Regions from separate parts of the Homo sapiens genome. Here region 1 is linked to region 2. Evidence: promoter capture Hi-C in human tissues and cell types (Jung and others, 2019). All regions are on one chromosome and are shown on one strand. The core of a region is centred on a gene start or on the middle of the fragment in contact, and the rest is flanking DNA. Distances in the headings are between cores, read along the strand shown. Region 1 overlaps STK4 (serine/threonine kinase 4). Region 2 holds the start of SEMG2 (semenogelin 2).

Region 1 (5,276 bases), core at 1,683-4,182, 250 kb after region 2:
GTTAGATTAAAGGTCACAGCCTTGCTGCCTTAGGGAAAATAGCAAGGATGGCAAGCTAAAGCTGAAAATGGCAGGCAACAGATGTAGAGGGACTGTCATTTCCCCATACCTTTAATGATGCCAGTCAACTGGCAGTCTTCAGATTCATCTTGGACTTGTCTTTTCACAGCACAGCTGGTGTGTCATTTTTACTTCCCTTCTCTGCTTGATTTCTTGCTGGATTCCAAAGAGTATTTTTCCAACTTACAAAAAGACGATGACTCATGTTTTTTACAAGGAGGTAAATCATAAAAAAACCATTTCATGTAATCCAGGATTGGGTTTAACGTTGTAAATCTGTCTCCTAACATAAAAAATACTAAACCCAAAAAATAATCTAATGACATAAAGGAAATTATTTTAAAGAGCATATAGTCATCAGTCAGTAGTTGTTTTTACAAGTTAGTATGTCAGGTCTTCCCTTGATCCAGAAATACTCCCAAGGGATTAAAAATACAGACACACACACACACAAACACGAGTGTGCGCTCGCACACACATAGCCTGTCTCTGAAAGACACACAAGAAGCCGCTACCCTTGGTGATTCTGGGTGGCTAAGAGACAGAGAGAGGTAGGAGGCAGTTTTTTTTTTTTTTTATTGTATGCGTCTTAATATTTTTTTAAATTTTGAATCATATGATTGTATCGCCTATTCAAAAATTAACAAGAAAAACTTAAGAAATGGTGTCATTAACATTTTAATTTCCTGGTCATTACAGAAGAAGGAATAAATACACAGGATTGAATTAAAATGATATATAAAAGTATAAAAATTATGTAAACTTAATTGTATCATGAAAGTCAATGATGGTCACTGCACATTACTAATATCATTTCATCAGTATTTTATAAACGCATTAACAAATCTGTGTTTCAGGAAATCCACTGGCTCCCAACCCAGGATTGTGGATCTCCTAAGTAGCTGTGAAGGTGGTGATAGTGCTTAATTTATTTACTATATTTCACAAAGGTGCAAATATTAAAATACTAAATTACATTGATTTTCATTGAAACAGTTATTGCATACCAATCAGAAATTATGAACAGCAAATTAAAAAGTTTCTTATAGAATTTTAATCTAATTAGTGCTATCTGTTAAGTAGATAAAATCATACAGATCCTACAAAAGAGAAAACAATAGATATTCTTCGTGTTAAAAAGACCAGGAATCACTAAATCTGTCTATAATAGGGATTGGAGTAAAGCGAAGAAGGACATCACAAGCTGTAAATTTACCTTCCACCCCACCTAGAACAATGCTGAAAGGTTCATATCCTTCTGCTTCTTCTGGGGCAGGAAAAAGACTGGGACCCAATGACCTACCTATAGTTTCTTTACACTCACCCTTCTCCAAGTTTCTCTAAGACATCAAATACTTCTTCTGGTTGTTTGGTTAAACTATCTTCATCCAACTTTTTCAGCTGCCTGTGAATAAAGAAATATAAACACAAAATACATTTTATTTGCTAGGAACTAGAACATAAAATATATCTTTTTTTTATAATTAGCATCTCAGGAACTTCTCTATACAGACTTCACTAGTTAAGACTGTTTTAAGAAACAAGGTTTCTTGGGAGGCCGATACAGGCAGATCACGAGATCAGGAGATCGAGACCATCCTGGCTAACATGGTGAAACCCCGTCTCCACTAAAAATACAAAAAAATTAGCTGGGCGTGGTAACGCATGCCTGTAATCCCAGCTACTCAGGACGCTGAAGCATAAGAATGGCGTGAACCCAGGAGGCAGAGTTTGCAGTGAACCGAAATTGCGCCACTACGCTCAAGCTTGGGTGACAGAGAGAGACTGTCTCAAAAAAAAAAAAAAAAAAAAAAAAAGTCATGTGGCTGAAATGCTGTAGATTCAAGCATTCGATGTATCCTTCAAAATCTATTTAAATCTTGAGATTTCATGAATTAAAATGATGTAATTATCTCTTCAGAAAAGGTGTTTAATGTAAGGTAACTATGAATTGAAACATAACTATGAATTGGACTGCAGACTAAGGAAGACACGGGAAACCTTTGCTCTTCCATTAGCAAGTTTTTTGTAAGTTTGTCAAAACACATAAATTCTGTAGGTATCACAGAAACAGAAAGTGGAAAGTGTACATTTAGATATGATCAAAAGTGAAAAATCACTAGGCAGCTGTGAGTTTCAGATATTCTCACAAAGACCTTCCTATGAGTAGATACATACCTTTGACTAGTCCCAAAAATCAAAGGTACTTGGCTGCTCACAATTTCCAGATAATTCAGATTTCTGACTATGCTAGACAATCATAACAAACATGGGAGGTTATAAATTAACATTTTTTTAAAACTCTGAGATCTCTGAAAATTACTAATGAGCTTAAAGAAGGAACTTGCCAAGGAATATGTGTGTGTGTGTGTGTGTGTGTGTGTGTGTGTGTGTGTGTGTAGTCTACACAATGGCTTCCTGAAACTACAAAGAACAACAAAGAATAGAGAGCTGAGGAAACGGTGAAATATGGAAGTAGTCACACTGGAGACCTCTTTGTAGAAAAAAAAAGGTTTAGACTAGCTGGATAATATCAATTATTACAACAAAAGACTTAAATACACACACATACACACACACACACACACACACAAATGTGTACCTTCCTAAATAAAACAGATTAAAATTAGAAGACAAAAAATAAAACAAACCAACAAAAACCCTGACCACATCAAGTGTATCTACCAATAAACACTGATCTCAGAAGGACAATCTTATAGTTTATGAATATCAAGGACTATAAACTAGAGAAATGGAGAACTGCTCCAAGTCAAAACTGCCTTAACTTGATATCAACAGAACAAAATGATCACAGTGACCTTTGAAAATCAAAAGGTCCTAAAAATTAAATACCAATGACATCATAAAAACTCCTACCTTCAAAATGAAAAGGGATGAAGTGAAACTCCTCTTAAACTTCAGAACTGAAACTTCTATAAACTCAGAAGTCAGAACGAACATCTCATATGCCAGGGTTTTTTTGGTAAAGTCCTGAATTGTAATTGTATAAACATTGGACAATACCTCACTTCTCAAGTATAATCAAAGTTGTATAAACAGCTTATACAAAGGAAGATCAAGTATGTTTCTTTGAAGTGTTGACTCTCTGTGGTTTACAAAATGCAAAAGTCACTATTTCAACTACTTCAGGGACCACAGCATAACAAAGGAAATTGCCACTGCCTTGAGATAGACAGCTGCAAACCTCTGATAATACTTTGACAAACTTTTTTTTTCTTTTTTTTTAATTATTATTATACTTTAAGTTTTAGGGTACATGTGCACAATGTGCAGGTTAGTTACATATGTATACATGTGCCATGCTGGTGTGCTGCACCCATTAACTCGTCATTTAGCATATGACGGCTCGAATACATCTTTGAAACAATCTAAGTGCTTTTTTGTTTGTTTTTGATCCGGGGCTATTAAAAACAACTTGAACTTAAGGCGCTATTACATCTCTGGTGCCTGATAACCAAGAGGTGGTCAAAATATATTTGTGAAATGGATTCACAAATGTAATGATGGGAATCACGAATTTCATCAGCAATCTTTGAATTATCACAATAAAACAGAATTTCACCTAAGAAGTATTACTGAATTATCAACATTTCTATAAAAATATTTTGATAAGTGATTCATAATAATATTTTATACCATGACTCTTCACAGAAAAAACACTATTACCAAAACAGCCTGACTCTGATAATACAGTTCTCTTATCTGGGACTTCCCCAGGTTCCAGACGGTTTCAGCACTTGCTCATAAATGAACAAGCCTGATCAACAGAGCATCCATGGACCAAATACTGGTGGATGCTCCTCTCCTAAGTCAGATGGCCATGTGGATGGCCAGCATCCCAGGAATGCACTCTACGCCTTCCACTATAACATTAATCTAATGGCAACTCATTTTTTAAAATTATTAACTCCTATATGAGACACCAATCTGTCATCACTTAATCACACACACACACAAATGTCAAACTCACGAACACAAAGGGCATTTCCTGCACTGGGGTTATTGGAAACACATGCCATCTGAATTTCTGAAAAGACACCTGTATCTTTCCAAACACAAGTAATGGTGTCTATGAAGTAGTCACTTACAGGTCTGGCTAATTCTCAAAGCTTTCTCCCATTTCAGAACTCCCATAAAGTTCATTTTATGTGTAACTATTTCTTTTTCCACACAGAATTTGATATGGATTACAACAACTATACATGATAAATGGACAAAATCTTACATAATAAAACTGTGTCCCCAGCTTACCCCAATTCATATGCTGAAGTCCTAATACCCACCACCTAAGAATGTGACTGTATTTGGAGACAAGGCCTTTAAAGAGGTAATTAAGATAAAATGAGGTCATATGGGCATGCCCTAATCCAGTATGACTGGTGTCCTTATAAGAGGAGATTAGGACACTGACAGGTACAGAAGGAAGAACATGGAGACACAGGGAGATGGCCATCTACGAGTCAAGCAAAGGCGTCAAAAGAAACAACTCTGACAATGCCTTGATTTCAGATCTCTAGCCTTCAGAACAGTGAGAGAATAAATTTACGTTGCTTAAACCACCCACTCCATGACACTTTGTCTTGTCCTGATAAACTGATACACGTGATAATAAAATTGATCTGCTTCAAATTAGGCAATCTACTAGTTACAATGAGCTGGGAATCACCAGCCACTTCAGAACCCAGTCCTGCAATGCTCTTCTCTTGTGCTTTTAATACATTTTTTAAAATCCAAAAGGTACAGGAATGAGCATGCCAAGAAACTTTAGTCCTTTGCTCAAGATTATGTAAGACAAGGCAAAGGGGGAAACAAAACTCAGATTCCTAATCCTCTTTTCAATTAAACCAAGGCCTCGGAGAAAGAAACCAAGAAGAACGAACGAACATAGTTCAGAAAGAAACATAACTAGTGTGCATTCATAATTGGATCACTATGGTACTATAGTAAATATCTGCTAACATACACAGAGACCTGTGAAACAGGGGTACTTTTAGAGAGGCATCAGAGTGAGGCAGTTAAGAGCATGGCCGGGCCCGGTGGCTCACGCCTGTAATCCCACCACTTTGAGAAGCCAAGGTGGGCGGATCACGAGGTCAGGAGATAGAGACCATCCTGGCTAACACGGTGAAACCCCGTCTCTACTAAAACTACAAAAAATTAGCCAGGCGTGGTGGCACGCACCTGTGGTCCCAGTT
Region 2 (5,139 bases), core at 1,850-4,349:
AGCCAAAAGCAGATAAAGCAGAAAATGATCCCTTTATTGGAAGTTTGAAGGGGCTCCGGGTTTAGAAAGCCTAATGCAAGGAAGCATGGGAAGGTGGTGTCATCCATGGACCAAGGATCTGGGACCACATGGGAGTCTGCCTCTCAGAAACATCAAAGACTTCACTGAGGTCGGGTGACACCTAGGGAGAAAAAAGACAACCAGATATGTGAGGATAGTGGAGAGTGGGGGTGAGGATGGGAGAGCTGGGACCCCTGTCCCCTTTAGCGTCAACTGCACCAGCCCCCTGATCATTAGGACACCAGGTCACTAGTTATCAGCTGGGACCATTGTTTCTGCTGCTTACCCTCTCTTCAGGTACAGTGTTACTTATTGCAAAGGGGCATGGAAGAACCATTTCCCCAATCCAGGTTAAAATTTTCCTCTCCTGACATTGCAAGTGTCCAGTTAGCACCTGAGATCTCTCAGCATCTCCTGCACCTCCATTTCCACTTCCTTTTTCACAATCTGAACAGGAATCCTTCTTTCTACTCATATCTTTCCTATATTCAGAGAGAGTGGACTGCTAGTCTTTGGGCTTGTGGTCTCTGAAGGAGCATAGATGAACTCTAACAGGGATGCAAGAACATTCATGTATGTGCAGAAAGAAAATATTAACTGCTGTAATATTTCATACTATATGAGAAAGAATTTGAGGTTTACTAATCTAAAGTATAAGAATTGACAAGAGTATACCATAAACTCATAAATATGCATATATAGTCAGTGCATGTTCAAAAAAATCTTTAGCAGGTAGGCATGTATAAAAATATTATTGAAGAATACTCAATTAAGAATAGGAATTCTAGGACCCAGTGATAGTCCAAGCAGCCTTCCCTGCCACTACCAGGTCCTCTACTCGCCAGGAAATGGTGTTCATCTTCCCACCACTTGTAATATAGCACTTCTATTGATGTGAACAATGGTTATCAGTCCTACCATGTTCCTGGAGAGTCCCCAACTTTGGGACAGGCACCTCTCCTATTTGGTAAGAAAAGCAAACTTACCTTGCTATTGGTCCAGCTTTTCAAGTGGTTGCTAAGCAACAGGGCTATGTAGATATTGGATTTCTGTCTTCATTATATTGTTGTGTCAAATGATCATCTTGGGCAACCTCATGCTCAGTAATTACAATATTATGTGACTCACTGGATTCCTGTTTGTATCTGCCTTTTTGTTCATGACTGAGTAGGTCTTGTTTGCTATCTGCAGATTGACCAGACTTTCCTTTTGCATTTTGGCCAGACCATTGATCTTGATTAGGATTTGGTGTCTGGATTTGAGACTTGCCTTCTACTAGCTTTTCAATTTGGAAAGAAATACTGCTTTGGGATACATCTTTCTGCGTGCTCTTTCCTCCATAGTTGAGTCGTCTTTCTTCTGTACTTGAAGATTGGTATGACATTTTATTTTCCTTATGGCCATGCTCTTGATCTTGACTAGGAATTGTTACCTGGTTTTGAGACTTGCCATGTATTTTCTCTTCAGTTTGGATAGAAATACTGCCTTTGGATACACCTTTCTGTACATCCTTTTCTCCACTGTTGAGACGTCTTTCTTCTGTACTCGAAGATTGGTATGATATTTTATTTTCCTTATGGCCATACTCTTGAGCTTGACTAGGAATTCTTACCTGGTTTTGAGACTTGCCATGTATTTGCTCTTCAGTTTGGATCGAAATACTGCCTTTGGATACACCTTTCTGGATGCCCTTTTCTCCACAGTTGAGATGTCTTTCTTCTGTACTTGAAGATTGGTATGATATTTTATTTTCCTTATGGCCATGCTCTTGATCTTGACTATGAATTGTTACCTGGTTTTGAGACTTGCCATGTATTTTCTCTTCAGTTTGGATAGAAATGCTGCCTTTGGATACATCTTTCTGTACACTCTTTTCTCCATGGTGAAGTTGTCTTTCTTCTGTACGTGAAGACGGGTATGATATTTTATGTGCCTTCCGGCCATGCTCTTGATCTTGACTGAGATTTTTTGTCTGGTGTTGATTCTTGTTATATACTAGGAGCTCATCTTGGGTAGTAAAAATGTCTTTGGGTCCATGTTGGAGTCTGTCTTGATGTGCAGGATGGAGTGAAGTTTGTAGTTTACTTGAATGTTCCTCTCTCACGTCAACCACATTTTGGTAATGCCCTTTATTTTGATGAGAATTTTTAGTCTCACGTTGTTGTTTGTTAACTACTAGTTCTTCAGTTTGGAGAACATAACTGCTTTGGGATCCACCTTGTGTTCTACCTTTTTGTGCACCAGAGGCTGAAGCTTGTTCTTTACTTAGTCCATGAACCCATAGCCTTTTTTCTGTGTTTGAACATTGACTGGATAATCCCTTTCCAGATGGGCTATTCCCCTGATCTTGAGAAGGATTTTGTGTCCCATGATGAGCTTGGCCTCCTTTATGATGTATAACTATCATGTGAAAATGACCTTTTGATTTATCATGGTCTCTGCCTTCTTGTTTATAATTGAGCAGTTGTTGACTTCCACCTAGGTGTTGTTTTGATTTTGTCGCCTTATGTAGGGCATTCAAATCATATTGCTGACTTTTTCGGGTCCAGTCATGATCATTGATGTCTACATGATATGTGTGTTGAATAGAAAAACTGCCTTTGGATTTAGTATGTTGTTGGTCTTTTTGTCCAAAATAGTGCTGGCCCTTTTGTCCATGTGGAAATTGGGAAGATCCGCTTGGCAATTGGCCTTTTGATCCACCTGGTAATTGATAATAGAAATGTATGCATTCATTATCTCCAAAGCTCTCTTGCAACTCTTACCTCCCACCTTTTCCCAACAAATTTCTGATATTTCCAAAAGCCTACAGCGTTGGGTGGAGAAAAATCAATTCTCATCAAGGAGAAGAATCTGTGCCTGAACAGGTTACTGTTTGCACCCTGAATATCCTTAGAGGCCATTTTTTTAAAGTAGCTTTCCCCAAGGCTTACCCTCTCCACTCACCTTTTTGTCCCATCACAGCTGCTTGCTTCTCCAAGATAAGGAGCAGGGAAAGGACAAAGAGGATGATGGACTTCATCTTGCTTGAAAAATCTTGTCTGAGAACTGAGCGGATCTCTTCATTTATATGTTCCTTGAGTGGGTGTGCTATGGGTGGAGCTGAAATGTCAAAAGGCACTGCCCTTTCATAGCTTATTAGTAAATGCCAGCTTCCTCACCCCTGCTCAGTGGGGGATAATGTCAAAGTCCCCAGGGACTTAGCATGGGGACATAATATCAAAGGCAATTTTTTTTACTTTCAGAATCCCCAGCAAAATTTTATCGGTCTTTGTATATCATCATGCCAGATCGCTTGCATTATACAGAAGAAATTCAGTCCGGAGTAGGAAGGAGACTAGCTTCAGGTTACAAAAGTAATTGGTGGCTGACAATGCCTTCATACTCTAAATGCGAGTTTCCTTTCTGATCCAATAACTTAAATACTAAATTTTAGGTATAACTCTATACTTTGTCTTGTTTTAAAGTAATCCTGAGACACATTCTGTTTTACTCGAGAAGGAGCAGTCATAGAAGTAGAATGATACAGAAGAGAAAGAAACTTCATGGAAGCCAAAGAAAAAAATTTCAACAAATAAATGAGGCATACCAATGTCAAATGTATCTGTGAAGTTCATCACAAAAAAGACTAACATGTGTCAAAAACTTTCTGATGTTACTCACTGCTAGTAATGTTAACGAGAGATGAATACAGTTGTGTTGGGTTGTCAGTTGAAGGATGGAGTCCAGCTGAAACCATCTCAAGAAGTCTGATTTCATGGTGGAATGAGAGGTGAGGCTGTATCTGGAGGGTGAGGTAAGCTCCAGAGATTTTTTGAAAGGATGAGAAAAATTTAACATGTTTTTATGATGATAGGAACAACTGTTGGAAAAAGAAGTAAGAATGTTGGTTTCCAAATTGGATTATTTGATGATATTTACCTAAACAAAAATGTATTTACCAAAATACATTTTTTAAATAAAAGCATTTCATACTTCTGTAATAAACTGCTGAACCCTCCAACAGGCTGTGAGGAATATTTGCCAACTTCAGTTCATTAAATAATGTATTGAGAGTGGACCTAAAGCTAAAATTTTTACCTTGGGTGGAAGCATAGGGTTTTTTTGCTTTTGTTTTGTTTTGTTGTGTTGTGTTGTTTTGTTTTGTTTTTTTGCAATTGTGAAAACTTCTTGAAAAATCCAAGGAAGGTTTTTTGTTTGTTTGTTTGTTTGTTTTGTTTTTTTTGTTTGTTTGTTTTTGAGACAGAGTCTCGCTCTGTCGCCCAGGCTGGAGTGCAGTGGCACCATCTCGGCTCACTGCAAGCTGTGCCTCCCAGGTTCATGCCATTCTCCTGCCTCAGCTTCCCAAGTAGCTGGGACTACAGGTGCCTGCCACCACGCCCGGCTAATTTTTTGTATTTTTAGTAGAGACGGGGTTTCACCGTGTTAGCCAGGATGGTCTCAATCTCCTGACCTCGTGATCCGCCCGCCTCAGCCTCCCAAACTGCTGGGATTACAGGCATGAGCCACTGCACCCGGCCAGTTTCTTTACTTTGACTGAAAAAGTCCTTGTTATGAGAAGACAACAGGAGAAGCAGCAACATTTGAACAGTGACCCTGTATGCATTCAGAACACTGTGGAGGGTAGTTCTGGAGAAAGGACGGCTTGGAAACTTATTTTCTATTATTCTCTCTTAAAATCCTAACCTTCCTGTAAGCAATGCTATATGGAAGGGGAGAGGGGAAAGGCCAACCATAGGAAAAAATGCTACTTATGCCATCAAACTTGAAGCATGTGAGCTATGTGGTTTCTCTATGAGCCATTCTGAGATCTTACCAGTTTTATCTGTTTGCCCTAAGGGCAGTAAGTATTTCCTTATGGCAGGGACCCCAAAAGAAAAGAGTAAAGTTTTCCTGAACACAAATTTATTGCTGTACCTGCTAATCACTATAATCTTCCTTACACTTCCCTTAAGGAAATACCAGGAACTGTTGTGTTCCAAGATTACCGGAACAAACAAGAGTCTGAAATATTAATCTTACTTATGGATCAAGAACAAAACTTCCAACTAATCTAGTGTCCAAAAGATACAGATAAAA

The links. Contacts are between HindIII fragments. The study calls those that stand out against the background at their distance.
Region 1: a fragment that was not itself captured here is called in contact with the fragment with the promoter of SEMG2 in region 2 in 1 of the 25 tissues and cell types used here (aorta).

Annotation. Positions count from the first base shown.
Region 1 is chr20:44,968,267-44,973,542 of GRCh38, reverse strand. It overlaps STK4 (serine/threonine kinase 4), which reads right to left. Exons shown (of 11, transcript NM_006282.5): 2 at 1,385-1,465. Among named protein-coding and RNA genes, the nearest start is that of STK4, 4.4 kb to the right of the region's middle. RefSeq lists a silencer at 5,147-5,276. The HindIII fragment of the contact is 4,792 bases long and covers 537-5,276 here.
Region 2 is chr20:45,219,333-45,224,471 of GRCh38, reverse strand. It overlaps SEMG2 (semenogelin 2), which reads right to left and starts at 3,099. Exons shown (of 3, transcript NM_003008.3): 1 at 3,007-3,099; 2 at 1,047-2,763; 3 at 14-181. The coding sequence starts at 3,082. The coding sequence ends at 1,091. The HindIII fragment of the contact is 14,800 bases long and covers 793-5,139 here.